Linked DNA regions of Homo sapiens: region 1 is linked to region 2. The links are contacts of gene promoters, found by promoter capture Hi-C in blood cells and fetal thymus (Javierre and others, 2016). All regions are on one chromosome and are shown on one strand. The core of a region is centred on a gene start or on the middle of the fragment in contact, and the rest is flanking DNA. Distances in the headings are between cores, read along the strand shown. Region 1 holds the start of C16orf90 (chromosome 16 open reading frame 90). Region 2 holds the start of LINC00921 (long intergenic non-protein coding RNA 921).

Evidence for each region. The method cuts DNA at HindIII sites, captures the fragments that hold promoters and counts their contacts. A CHiCAGO score of 5 or more calls a contact.
Region 1: a contact is called between a fragment that was not itself captured here and the fragment with the promoter of LINC00921 in region 2, in 15 of 17 cell types (megakaryocytes, erythroblasts, naive CD4 T cells and 12 more). The highest score is 8.1, in megakaryocytes.

The regions. Positions count from the first base shown.
Region 1 is chr16:3,494,102-3,500,558 of GRCh38, reverse strand. It overlaps C16orf90 (chromosome 16 open reading frame 90), which reads left to right and starts at 5,070. Exons shown (of 3, transcript NM_001080524.2): 1 at 5,070-5,183; 2 at 5,682-6,035. The coding sequence starts at 5,138. It also overlaps a transcript of CLUAP1 not described here and the pseudogene RPL18P12. The HindIII fragment of the contact is 4,404 bases long and covers 1-4,143 here.
Region 2 is chr16:3,261,067-3,268,297 of GRCh38, reverse strand. It overlaps LINC00921 (long intergenic non-protein coding RNA 921), which reads right to left and starts at 4,530. Exons shown (of 2, transcript NR_033904.1): 1 at 2,530-4,530; 2 at 731-1,172. RefSeq lists enhancers at 3,550-3,619, 3,770-3,869, 4,310-4,469 and a silencer at 4,110-4,289. The HindIII fragment of the contact is 6,272 bases long and covers 2,613-7,231 here.

The DNA of each region.
Region 1 (6,457 bases), core at 692-3,191, 230 kb before region 2:
TCTCTACCAAAAAATACAAAAATTTGCCAAGCGTGGTGGCGCACACCTGTAATCCCAGCTACTCGGGAGGCTGAGGCAGAAGAATTACTTGAACCCGGCAGGCAGAGGTTGCAGTGAGCCGAGATCGCGCCACTGCCCTTCGGCCTGGCGACAGAGCGAGACTCTGTCTCAAAAAAAAAAAAAAAAAAAAAATGCACTATACTCAGGAAGCCCGCCTTCCCCCGTCCGAGGCACAGCGCGCTCCTCGTCGGAATCTGGTTGCCGAGCGGAGGACGGGATCACTGTGGGCGCCCAGAGGCAGGCCAGGCCTCGGTCTCGCGCACGCGCAGACGGCTCGGGCTGCACAACAGGCCGGAAAGGGGCCCTGAGCCGCTCGCGCCGCGCGGGTCCCGGCAGCCCTAGCCTCTGCATGGGGGCGCGAGGAGACGGCAGGAAGGGGCGGCCTCCACGTGTGAAATGGGGAGATGCCCCGCCAGGCGTGGCACAGCAGCCGGGTTTTGTAAGGTAGCTTGAGCAGGAACAAGGAAACAGCGTAGTGCACAAAGCGATTGGTTGGCATCAGGTTATTTCAGATGCATTTCTTTGGGTTAAAGCAGAGGGGGCTTCCTTATGCCAGCCTAGGTGGACAGGGCCCCTTTTGTTGGTTGCAGTGAATCTTCTGTGTTTTGGCAGACTGGCCTGTCTCTAAGTTCGCATTGATTACGTGGCACCTTGCACTAGCGATTCCATTCTGGTTTGGTCTGGTCCGTTGGTACCTTGTGCAGGAGCTCGCTCCAAAACAATGGCCTCCCATAAATGTTGCTTCACGTGTTATTAAGAAAAACAAAAGATAAGCCACAGTCTAGAAGAAAATATGCACAAAACACATATCTGATAAAGAGACGTGTATCCAGAATGTATCAAGAACTCTCAACACTCAATAATGAGAAACAGTCTAATTAGAGAATGGAGAAAACATTTTAAAAGCTACTTCACAAAAGAAGATATATGGATGGCTAATATGCAAATGAAGAGATGATCAAGGCTATTATTAGAGAAGTGCATATTAAAACCACAATGAGATATCACTATGAAGTTATTAAACTGGCTAAAATATCAGGTAACACGTTAAAAACCTAAAAATTAAATCTAGATAAAATGGCTAAAACAACAAAAAACTCTTGACAATGCCAAGGGCTTGAAAGGATGTTGATCAACTTGAACTTTTTTTTTTGAGATGGACTCTTGCTCTTGTTGCCCAGGCTGGAGTGCAGTGGCACAATCTCGGCTCACTGAAACCTCCGCCTCCAGGGTTCAAGCGATTTTCCTGCCTCAGCCTCCGGAGGAGCTGGGATTACAGACGCGCGCCACCGCGCCCAGCTAATTTTTGTATTTTGGGTAGAGACGGAGTTTCGCCATGTTGGCGTGAGTCACCGCACGCGGCCTGCATTTCCCTGATGATTAAAGATGTTGAACATCTTTTTACGTGTTTGATGACCATTTGTATATTTCCATTGGAAAAATGTCTATTCATTTTCTTTGCCCATTTCAAAATTGGGTTGAACATCCTTTTGTTTTTGAATTGTAAGTGTTCTTTATATATTCTGCCTATGAGACCCTTATCAGATATATGATTTGCCAATATTTTCTTCCATTTCATAGGTTGTCTTTTCACTTTTTTTTGTTGTTGTTGTTTGTTTGTTTGTTTGTTTGTTTTTTGAGATGGAGTCTCGCTCTGTTACCCAGTCTGGAGTGCCAGTGGTGCGATCTCGGCTCACTGCAAGCTCTGCCTCCTGGGTTTACGCCATTCTCCTGCCTCGGCCTCCCAAGTAGCTGGGACTACAGGCGCCCACCACCACACCCGGCTAATTTTTTTGTATTTTTAGTAGAGACGGGCTTTCACCGTGTTTGCCAGGATGGTCTGGATCTCCCGACCTCATGATCCGCCCGCCTATGTTGGCCAGGCTGGTCACAAACTCTTGACCTCAGGTGATCTGACCACCTGAGTGTCCCAAAGTGCTGGGATTACAGGTGTGAGCCACCATGCCCAGCCGTGTTTCTGATTTCTGAAGATTTGCTTTTCCAAGATTGTTGTGGTTATTTGGGCTCCCTTGTAATTTCACATGAATTTTAGGATTAGCTTTTCCATTTCTGCTTGTGATGCTTAATTTTGTGTGTCAACTTGACTGGGATGCCTGATAGCTGGTAAAACATTATTTTTCAGTGTGCTTGTGTAAGCGTTTCCAGAAGAGATTAGCATTTGAATTGCTAGACTGAGTAAAAAAAAAGAAGATTGCCCTCACCAGTGTGGTGGGCATCATCCAATCTGCTGGGTGCCCAATTATGACAAAAATGCAGAGGAGGGGTGAATTCACACTCTCTTCATGGGCTGGGACATCCTTCTTCCCGTGCCCTTGGACATTGGAGCTCCTGGTTCTTGGACTTCTGGACACCAGGACTTACACCAGCCCTCACCCCCACCCCTACCCAGATTCTCATGCTTTTGAACCCAGACTTAATTACAGCACCAGTTTTCCTGGTTCTCCAGCTTGCAGGCAGCATATTGTGCGACTTCTCAGCCCGGATAATCACATAAGCCAATATCCCTAATAAATCTTCTCTTGGCTGGGCACGGCGGCTCACACCTATCACCCCAGCACTTTGGGAGGTGGAGGCAGGAGGATCACTTGAGCCCAGGAGTTCAAGACTAGCTCTGGGCAACATGGTGAGATCTCCATCAGCAAAAATTTAAAAAATTAAAAATTAAAAAATGAAAATAAATTAAAAAATTAGCCAGGCCTGGTGGTGCACACCTGTAGTCCCAGCTACTTGGGAGGCTAAGGTGGGAGGATTGCCTGAGCCTGGTAAGTTGAGGTTGCAGTGAGCCGTGATCATGTCACTGTACTTCAGCCTGGGCAATGGAGCAAGGCCCTATCTCAGAAAAAATTATATAAGGAGATTTATTTATCCTCTAATAAATATTTTCTCTGTAAATATCTATATACATTCTGCTGACTATATTTCTCTGGAGAAGCCTAATACACTACATGAAGGCCATTTTGATTTTGATAAGAATTGTACTGAGCACTTTGGGGAGTGTTGCTATCTTAACAATATTAAGTCTTCAGTCCATGAACATGTGATGCTTTCCAATTTATTTAAGTCTTTAGATTCTCTCAGCAATGTTTTATAGTATTCAGAGTTGTCTTATACCTCCTTGGTTAAATGTATTCCTATTTTATTCTTTTTATTCTTTGCTAGTATCTAGAAATACAATTAATTTTTGTGTGGTGATTTTATGACTTGAGATTTTTCTGAACTTCATTAGCTCTGAAAAAGCTCTACTAGGTTCAGGATTTTTTTTTTTCAAGTATGAATTATTTAATATTTCCTACATACAAGATCAGGTTGCTGGGCGCGGTGGGTCATGCCTGTAATCCCAGCACTTTGGGAGGCCGAGGTGGGCGGATCACCTGACGTCAGGAGTTTGAGACCAGCCTGGCCAACATGGCGAAAGCCTGTCTCTACTAAAAATACAAAGATCCGTTGGGCGTGGTGGTGGGTGCCTGTAATCCCACCTGCTGGGGAGGCCGAGGCAGGAGAAGCTCTTGAACTCGGGAGGCGGAGGTTGCAGTGAACCGAGATCGCGCCACTGCACTCCAGCCTGGGCGCCAAAGTGAGACTCCATCTTAAAAAAAAAAAAAAAGAAAAGAAAAAAAGAAAAATCAGGTCGTCTGTGACAAGAGAAAATTGAATGTTTTAACTTTTTGTTTTTTTGTCAGCATCCAAAATCTTTTTAATAAGAGGGTTCGTTTTTGTAGCCTCGGCTGGCCCGTAGGCCTCTGGCGCGCTCGAACTTCTGGTCCCTGGAGCGGAAATAGCGTTTGGTGTGGCTGTGTGGGGTTCCCAGGGCCTTGCCGAAATGCCGGTACACCTGTCGGCCCTTGCGAAGACCGGAGAGTAGGACGGGGCCGCCGTCCTTGAGGGAGTCCAGGGCCAGCTGATCGAAAGTCAGGATCTTGGCCCCCACCCTGAGGATGCCGCTGTGGGCCGGCTGGTCACGGGCAGCGCACACACCTTAAGTTTGGGCACCTCCTGAACCCTCGCGTCATCCGTTAAGCGTCCCCACAACCACGGCCGTTTTGTTTTCCCAGCCAGGAAGCTTCATCTTCCGGATCATCCGGGAAACGGACAGAGGTGGCCGGTTGGTGCGACTCATAAACAACCTCTTCAGCACAACCTGGTTGAATGTGGAGTTAGTTCGTCTGGACGGTAACCTGTACAGCTTGACCAACAAACAGCCTCAGTTAGATATCCTGGCTCTTGGGCTCTTTGCGCCGAACCTTTAGGTCCTTCTTGTGGCGGACGTCAGCTCCCATGATGGCGCTTCCTGCTTGGCCAGGTCCGGAAAGATGAATGTTTAACTTTTTTTTTTTTTTGAGACGGAGTCTCGCTCTGCAGCCCAGGCTGGAGTGCAGTGGCGCGATCTGGGCTCACTGCAAGCTTCGCCTCCCGGGTTCACGCCATTCTCCTGCCTCAGCCTCCTGAGTAACTGGGACTACAGGCTCCCGCCACGACGCCCGGCTAATTTTTTTGTATTTTTAGTAGAGACGGGGTTTCACCGTGTTAGCCAGGATGGTCTCGATCTCCTGACCTCATGATCCGCCCACCCCGGCCTCCCACAGACCTCAACTGATCAGCCTGCCTCGGCCTCCCACAGTGCTGGGATTACAGGCATGAGCCACCGCCCCCAGCCCCTTTTCAGCATTTTCAAAGTACCGACCTAGGTCTTCCTAGGTCTGTACTCCTGAACCCTCATTTCCCACCCCAGATGAGGAAGCTGGCCCCAAGAGATCACCTGAGAGAAGGACTCTCCAGTTTGCCAGAGCTGTCTGTTTTATGTGGCCTGACCCCAGCCAGAGGGACCAGGGACTTCCCCCAGGGTTCTGGCCCCTTCCCATGCCTTTCTTTCACCCTGCCCTTGCCTTGGGCACTGTCCTCTCCCAAACTAGGGGTCCAGGAAGGCTGGGAGTCTTCCCCGTGATGTCATAAGAACCAGTTGCCAGGGGAGACCTGCCAATGTACCCCCTAGGCAGGGGAGAGCAGGGCCCTGCTGCACCCAAGTCCTGGTTGCTCCTCCCCACCACACTGGCCCTCCATGGAAGCCTTGGTCTGTGCATTTTCTGAGCTGCACATAAGAGAAGGTGCCGGGCTGTGGGGAGGAGTGGCAGGAAGAGAGATAGGCTTCTGTCCCCACCTGGGCCCAAAGCCGAGGGGTGGCCTCAGGGACATGTATGCTTGGGAGAGGGGAATGGCCACTGGGCCAGGCCATGAGCCCCTGGGCTGGCCACTTTCTCTCAAACCCACTGTGCAATTTCTCTGTGGGGACCAGAATACTCTTCCTAGGGTAGCGGGCAGAACAGGGTAGTAGAAAGGACTTGAGGTCCTGAAAGCACTCTTAGTACCAAGGCCCGAGGCTTCCCAGGCCTCCCTGTTGGTTGGGAGTGGGAAGAGGAGTCGTGTCTTGGGCATGGGCAGGGGAGGCAGTGGACTGAGACTATTTGACACACAGGTAAACTGAGGCCAGGTTGGCTGGGGGTGTAGCCCATCATGTGAGCTGGTCTCAGAGGTATGTGACTGCACCCTCCCCTCATGGCTGCTGTGGGGGGCTGGCCACCACCCTCCCGCTGTCTCCTCTGCAGATGCAGTGAGCCAGGCCCAAGGACGCCCCGGCCACCCTGACGCACCCCCCAACATCTACGAGGGGGGCCTGGGGTCCCCGCAGCCGCAGTGCCCCAGTGCCCAGGGAAGCAAGCCCAAGAACTTCCGGCTGCGCCACCTCCGGGGCCTGGGCCTCTACCTGGAGAGCCACCCGCCACCCACTGGCCAGTGTGAGAGCCACTGGCTGGGCCGGCTTATGGCTGGGGGCTGCCTGCCACAGCCTGAGGGCACAGCCTGGGCCCTGGACCTGCCACAGGGGACTCTGGGCCCACGTAACAGCCTCTGTTCAGCCCTTCTGGAAGCCCGATTGCCCAGGGACAGCCTGGGAAGCAGTGGTGAGCTCTGTCAAGGCAGGACTGGGCACGGGGGAAGACCCTAGGGGATGGTTGGGCTGGGGCCTCAGGCGGGCCCTTCTCCACTCCCAAGCCTCCACAGTGGCACCATGCCCCAGAAGGCCAAGATCTTGATGAATCTGTCCCCATCTCTGCATCACGCACAGCTAAGCGGGGTCTGGAGAATCCACCAGGGACAAAGCGGTGCGAGAAAAAGGGAGGATCTGGGAGGGAGGGCTGGGTGACTGCCCCAGCTCCACACTCGGTGAGGGGCCTTGGAATCTGTCTCCCTTGCTGGGCCTCAGTTTTCTCACTTGTAAAATGAGGGTTCAGGTTAGATGAGGGTCCTTCCAGCTTGAACCATTCTGTTCCCTCAACCTCCTCCCTCCCCTGGGGATTCTGTTAAGGAGGAAGCATTGCCCTCC
Region 2 (7,231 bases), core at 3,281-5,780:
AGCCTGGGAAACATAGTGAGACCCCGTCTCTACCAAAAATAACTTTTTTTGAATTAGGCGTTTTGTTTCAAAAATTTCAGAGAAAGGGACCTGTATCTAGAGTCTTATTTCAGGGGCAATCTTCCCACCTCAGCTTCCCAAGTAGCTAGGACCACAGGTATACATGATGGTGCATTCCTGTAGTGTCAGCTACTCGGGAGGCTGAAGTGGGACATTACTTGAGCTGGGGAGGTCAAAGCTGTAGGGAGCTGAGGCCAGGCACGGTGGCTCACGCCTGTAATCCCAGCACTTTGGGAGGCCGAGGTGGGCAGATCACAAGGTCAGGAGATCGAGACCATCCTGACTAACACGGTGAAACCCCGCCTCTACTAAAAATACAAAAATATGCTGGGCGTGGTGGCAGGCGCCTGTAGTCCCAGCTACTCAGGAGGCTGAGGCAGGAGAATGGTGTGAATCCGGGAGGCCCAGCTTGCAGTAAGCAGAGATCGTGCCACTGCACTCCAGCCTGGGTGACAGAGTGAGACTCCATCTCAAAAAAATAATAATAATAAATAATTAAATTTAAAAAGCTGTAGGGAGCTAAGCCATGATTGCAACACTGCACTCCAGTCTGGGTGATAGAGCGAGACCCTGTCCCCAAATAAATAAATAAACATACCCACCTCACATGAGGATAGTGAAGTCTAGGAAGAAACACCTATTACCTTGTATCCAGCATTGTTCTTGGTGCTTTGTGTGTATTAGCTCATTTAATCTTCACAACAACTCTAGAACCCCCATTTTACAGTTGATAGAAACAGGGACAAAGAGGGTAGGTATATCACTTGGCCAGCGTCACACCCTGCTATGAAGCACTCACATGAGGCAACGTAAAGCACACACAATACTTAGCACCTATAAACTGCATCAATTAAAGGTCATCCACTGCAGTTCCAAAGCTGTAATTTTTGGTATTTTGACATCCCCACTTCACAGACAGCCTTGGAAATATTTTCTGTGGTTTTTGAACTCCAGTTTTAGCTCTGACTTACACAGTCGTTTTCTCCTAACTACTTCCTGCAGCATTAAGAATTGTTTCCAGCTGCTGGTTTCTGCAGAGGATTGTCCTTGGAGCGTGGGGTGTCCACTGTGGTTCCAGCCGCAGCCCTGGTGCCCACACATGAAGATGCCCTCTACAGGACAGAAAGAGAAATACCACCTGATGTTGGCTGGGATATGGGCACTGTCTTTGTTCCAAAGAACCAAAGCTTTTCTTGGCAAATGGCCTGTCAGTCATTTCAGTTTATCTCAACTGCATTTTTAAAATTTCAGTTTCTGCTCTGGAGCTTCAGAGGAATTGAGACATGAGACAATTATGCCCTAAAGAACAGTCTGTCTGCATAAATGTTATGCCTGCAGTGTGTGTGTGTGTGTGTGTGTGTGTGTGTGTTTGGAGATAGGTCTGGGACGTGTTTCCTTCGGTACTGGCTCAAGGTTCCTTATTTGACTTGCTAATTTAAACTTATTCTACTTTGGAAACCTCGAATATTTTTTCTCTATGGGCAGAGTCTGCTTTTAAAAATCATTTGTTTAATCTTCTGCACCCCAGTGAAACAAAGTCTCAGCTAATAAATTTTTTAATTTTTCTGCTGTAAAAGTAATGGAGCAAAATAAGAAATTTCTCCTCTAACATTTAGCTTGCCATATTTTATTTTCCGTTACTATTTCACAATGAGCATATATTTGTGGACTATGTTTCATGAGTCATAAAACTTTAAAAATGCTCATTGAACGCCGGGCATACTGGTTCACGCCTGTAATCTGAGCACTTTGGGAGGCTGAGGCGGGCAGAACACAAGGTCAGAAGTTCGAGACCAGCCTGACCAACATGGTGAAACCCCATCTCTAACTAAAAATACAAAAATTAGCCGGGCGTGGTGGCGTGCGCTTGTAATCCCAGCTACTCAGGAGGCTGAGACAGAAAATTGCTTGAACCCGGGAGGCGGAGGTCGCAGTAAGCCCAGATCATGCCACTGCACTCCAGCCTGGGCAGCAGCGTGAGACTCCGTCTCAAAAAAATAATAATAAAATAAAAAAATAAAACGTATAGATGACATAGAGGGAAAAGGCCAACTTCTACCCCCAATTCTACTCTTGAAAGGTAGTCATATTTATTTCTTGCATTTCCCTCCAGATACTTAAATTTTAACATTTTTTTCTCTTATTTACAAACATGGGATCATGCTATCTGCACTGTAGTGCAAATGTGCTTTTTCCACTGAATAATACATAAACCATCTTTGCACATTAGCACACAGAAATTCACCGCACTGTTTTCAGTGGATGCAGTGTAGTCCAAGGAATGGATTCACCAAAACTTACTCAGCTATTCAGCCAGTGCCCTGGTGACAGACATTTAAGGGGTTTACAGTTTCTAACTAACTGGCAAGTGTGGCAGGCAGGGAAATGATCTAGGATGATTACCATCATTTGTGTAAGAAAGTGCCCCTGAGAACACCATGAAGGTGAATACAGCCTCGATATGCTTACCTGAAGACAGTAGTCTCGATGGGTAGGACTTAAATCCAATGTAGGAACTAGAAAAACAGACCATCTAGCTGGGTTTCCAAGCTTTTTTGTGGGCTGCAATACACTTGGATCAAAGGAAATCTTTCTTGAAGGTTAAATATGTAAAACAGTTAAAAAGTAGTGGCCGGTCTGGCATTAGTTGGGAGAGGGGGGAGGGGGTAGGAGGGAAGGAGGGAGGTCTATGCCTATGAAGCTCCTGAAATAAGAAACCTGGGCCGGGCGCGGTGGCTCACGCCTGTAATCCCAGCACTTTGGGAGGCCGAAGCGGGCGGATCACGAGGTCAGGAGAGCGAGACCATCCTGGCTAACATGGTGAAACCCCGTCTCTACTAAAAATACAAAAAATTAGCCGGGCGTGAAAATTAGCCGGGCGTGGTGGCGGGCGCCTGTAATCCCAGCTACTCGGAAGGCTGAGGCAGGAGACTGGCGTGAACTCGCGAGGCGGAGCTTGCAGTGAGCGGAGATGGCGCCACTGCACTCCAGCCTGGACGACAGAGCGAGACTCCGTCTCAAAAAAGAAGAAAGAAACCAGATGCATGTGCCTTCTTTGAGCCAAACCATTACCTCTCTGGCTCACAGCATGTTACTAGATTTGTTCAAAAGGAAAAAACAGAAGTTTCAGCAACCGTACTCTAGGGTTCTGAGGGGGCAGAGTTTGAGAATCCTTGCTCTAGCCCGCCTCTGCTGATTATAAGGGAGAAAACGGCAGTGCTGCTGTTAGGCTGATGTATCTGTTCCTTTCACAGCTTTGGTCATAACTGGTAATTACCATTTACTTGTTCTCAGCCTCCTTGGAACAGCGATCTTGCCTGACACGTGCACCCTCGCACGTGGCACAGTAAGTGGGACACATTAGGCACTCGGAAAATATTTGCTGTAAACATGAAAGAAGGGCGACAGGCTAATAAAGTGTGGAAGGGTTTTGGGGTCAGCACAGCCCCGGGACGTCCCATCCCCGTGGGCCGCGGGCCGCCCGGAATACGACGACTCCACTTGCCGGCGCTGCTCCCGGGATACCAGCGACAACAGCGGCTCAGTCCCGGCAAACGGCGCGTGGCCCCTCCGGCGAAAAGCAGCTATAGGCTGTTGCGGCTGCCAATCAGACCAACAGAGCCGCGACTCGGAGACCTCTGGGAGACGTGGGCCCCCGCTAATCCGCCCTCCAATTGGCTCGCGTGCTCCCGGGGCGCTCTGGGAGATGTGTTTCTGGGAGTGTTCCGCGCATGTGCATGCGTGAGGGCGGGGCGTCGGGGTCGGGCTGGAGTGTCTGTCGCGCCTTATGTGGGCCCCTCGGCAGAAGACGCACTTTCGGCAGAAGCCGCACTTTTGGCAGAAGCCGCCCTGGGTCCTTTCCCTCCCGCAGGCAGGCCGGGACCCCGGCGGGAATTGCGTGCAGGTCGGGTCTCGCTTGACCCCAGCGCCTCCCCGCGTCCGGGCACACTGCGGACAGTTCCTTTTTATTCTCTACCGCTACTTCCTCTTTATCTTCTGCCGCTCTTTCCACACGTCTCCTCCCCCAGGCCGCTTCCCTTTGGGGCGCCGGGCCAGGGAGGGGCTGCCGGACCGGAGACCCCGGACTCGCGCCGGTCTCCGCTCGGGCGTGGGGTCCGTGGGGCGTCGGCGGGAGGGGTCCTGGAGGAGACGGCTGTGCCGGGGCGGGACCCCCTGTCCTCTTAACAGACGCGCCCCTGACAGTCGTGCCAGTCGCCGCCCTGGGCTTTGGGGACGTCCGAGGACGCAGCTGGCGGTTCCTCCCGCGGTTCCCGGCACTGTTACTTCCCCGAATTCCCAGAACAACCCATTTGATAGGAAATGGAAACTGAGAAAAATCGAGTAATTTACTCACGTCACACGGCCACCAGATATTTGAATCTCGTATTTCCCACCACTTCGTGGCTTCCAGGCTCATAAACAAGAAGTTGCAAAACAGGGTGAGGCGTGGGAATGACAGCAGCACGGGGCGGGGAGTGGAAGGGCGGAGCACCTTAGAGGGCAGGATTCAGCAAACGGAACCTCAAAGGAAACAGTGTCAGTGCTGCTGCTTAGTTGGTAAGAAAACAAAGGGCCGGGCGCGGTGGCTCACGCCTGTAATCCCACCACTTTGGGAGGCCGAGGCGGTCGGATCGCGAGGTCAGGAGTTCGAGACCAGCCTGACCAATATGGTGAAACCCTGTCTCTACTAAAAAATACAAAAATTAGCCGGGCGTGGTGGCGCGCGCCTGTAGTCCCAGCTACTCAGGAGGCTGAGGCAGGAGAATCGCTTGAACCCCGGAGGCACATGTAGTGAGCTAAGATCGCGCCACTGCACTCCAGCATGGGCGACAGAGTGAGACTGCGTCTCAAAAAACAAACAAACAAAAAAAGGGAGTAGCTGCCTTCCAGACACAGTTTTGTTATTTTTCTGCCCCTTTCACTAGCCTGTCAGCCCTTTGGTGGCCGGGGATTGCGTGTCCAAAGCCTGGCTGCTAGTCAGGTTCCTATAAATATTGGTAGGACAGAGCGTATTAAAGTTTTTATTTTAAGATTTTTAAGCACAAGAAAGTTGAGAGAGTAACATGAATACTCACGTACTCTCCACCTAGATTTAATAATCAGAAAAAATTATGTGTGTAGGCCTTTATTTTTTACAAACCCTCTTGTTTAACGTTACCGCCTTCCAAATGAAGCTCATTGGTGAGTGGTGTGGGGATCTATTCAGAGCCCCATGACTGCAGCCCTTCAGCAGGGTTAAGGCCACCTGCCACACCCCACTTTGGGAAGCTGGCTTCCTCTCCTCTCCCTCCGTTTCCAAGCTGCTCAGGAGGTGCCCTCAGAAAGATCAGTTACAATTAGTGTTATCTGCGTAGGGGACTGGGCAGCAGATCTCATTGATCTGGGCTGGGATCGGCAGGTGGGTTGGTCCAAGTTGAGAGGGAGATCCTGCAGAAGCTCTTAGCTGCTGCAGGATTCAACACTAACTCCTTAAGGTAGCAACAAGGGCCCTTTGTAAAATCTGGCCAGAAACAGGTATCTTAGATGCATCTTCACACCCGCCAGTATCCAGTCTACCCTTATCATGTCAGCCCTGCTTTCAGAATCACCCAGAATCTGACCCTTCTGCCTCCACAGTGGTTCAGGGCCCTGCAGTCGCTTTCCTGCATTGTGACAATAGATTGCTTTCTCCTCTCTGTTTCCACCTTTCTCATCTCTTGTCTCTTATGGAAGCCAGAGTGTTCTCTTTTCTTTTCTTTCTTTTTTTGAAACAGTCTCACTCTTTCACCCAGGCCAGAGTACAGTGGTGCGATCACAGGTCACTGCAACCTCCGCCTCCCAGGTTCAGGTGATTCACCTCAGCCTCCAGAGTAGCTGGGACTACGCGCACATCACCACCACACTCAGCAAATTTTTGTATTTTCAGTAGAGACGGGCTTTCACCATGTTGGCCAGGCTTATCTCGAACTTCTGACCTCAGGTGATCCACCTTCCTTGGCTTCCCAAAGTGCTGGATTATATGTGTGAGCCACCGCGCCCGGCCCAGAATGTTTCTTTTAAAGCGTAACTCCAATTATGTCACTGCTCTGCTCAAACTTTCCAGTGTCCCCTCATCTCAGAGTAAGAGCCAAGTCCTTGCTGTGTCCTGGGAGCCCTGCTACTTGATAGGGGACTCCAGCTCCCTCTCTAACCCCTCCATCCACTCCTCCTCCGTGCCTCTGCTCCAGCCACCACTCTTCCTCAAACACTAAGCACAAAGTTACCCCTTTTGCACTCTGTAAATAGGCAAAGACTGCTCATCCTCAAAATGAATACCTGGCTTACTCCTCTTCCTTTGGGTCTCTGTTCAAGCACAAAAGCCTTCTTCAAGTGCCCTATTAAAATATGAAACCAGGGGGCACGGTGGCTCATGCCTGTAATCACAGCACTTTGGGAGGCCAAGGCGGTTGGATCACTTGAGGTCAGTTGTTTGAGACTGGCCTGGCCAACATGGTGAAACCCCGTCTTTACTAAAAATACAAAAATTAGCCTGGCATGGTGGTGTGAGCCTGTAATCCCAACTACTTGGGAGGCTGAGGCAGGAGAATTGCTTGAACCCGGGAGGCAGAAGTTGCAGTGAGCCAAGATAGCACCACTGCACTCCAGCCTGGGTGACAGAGTGAGACTCTGTCTCTAAATAAATAAATAAAAATAAAAAAATATGAAACCAATCCCCTGCACTCACTAACCCTATTATTCTGCTGTTTTTTCCCCCAACTTATCACTCCCTGATACATTGTGTATTTGTTTGTTTATATCAATTCACACTTTCCTATAAGAATGTGGGCTCTTGGCTGGGCGCAGTGGCTCATGCCTGTAATCCCAGCACTTTGGGAGGCCGAGGTGGGCAGATCACAAGGTCAGGAGATCGAGACCATCCTGGCTAACACGGTGAAACCCCGTCTCTACTAAAAATACAAAAATTAGCCGGGCGTGGTGGCAGGCGCCTGTAGTTCCAGCTACTCGGGAGGCTGAGGCAGGAGGATGGCGTGAACCCGGGAGGTGGAGCTTGCAGTGAGCTGAGATAGCACCACTGCACTCCAGCCTGGGCAATATAGCTAGACTCCGTCAAAAAAAAAAAAATGCGGGATCTTCTGAGCCAGGCGCAGCAGCTCACGCCTGTAATCCCAGCACTTTGGGAGGCCGAGGTGGG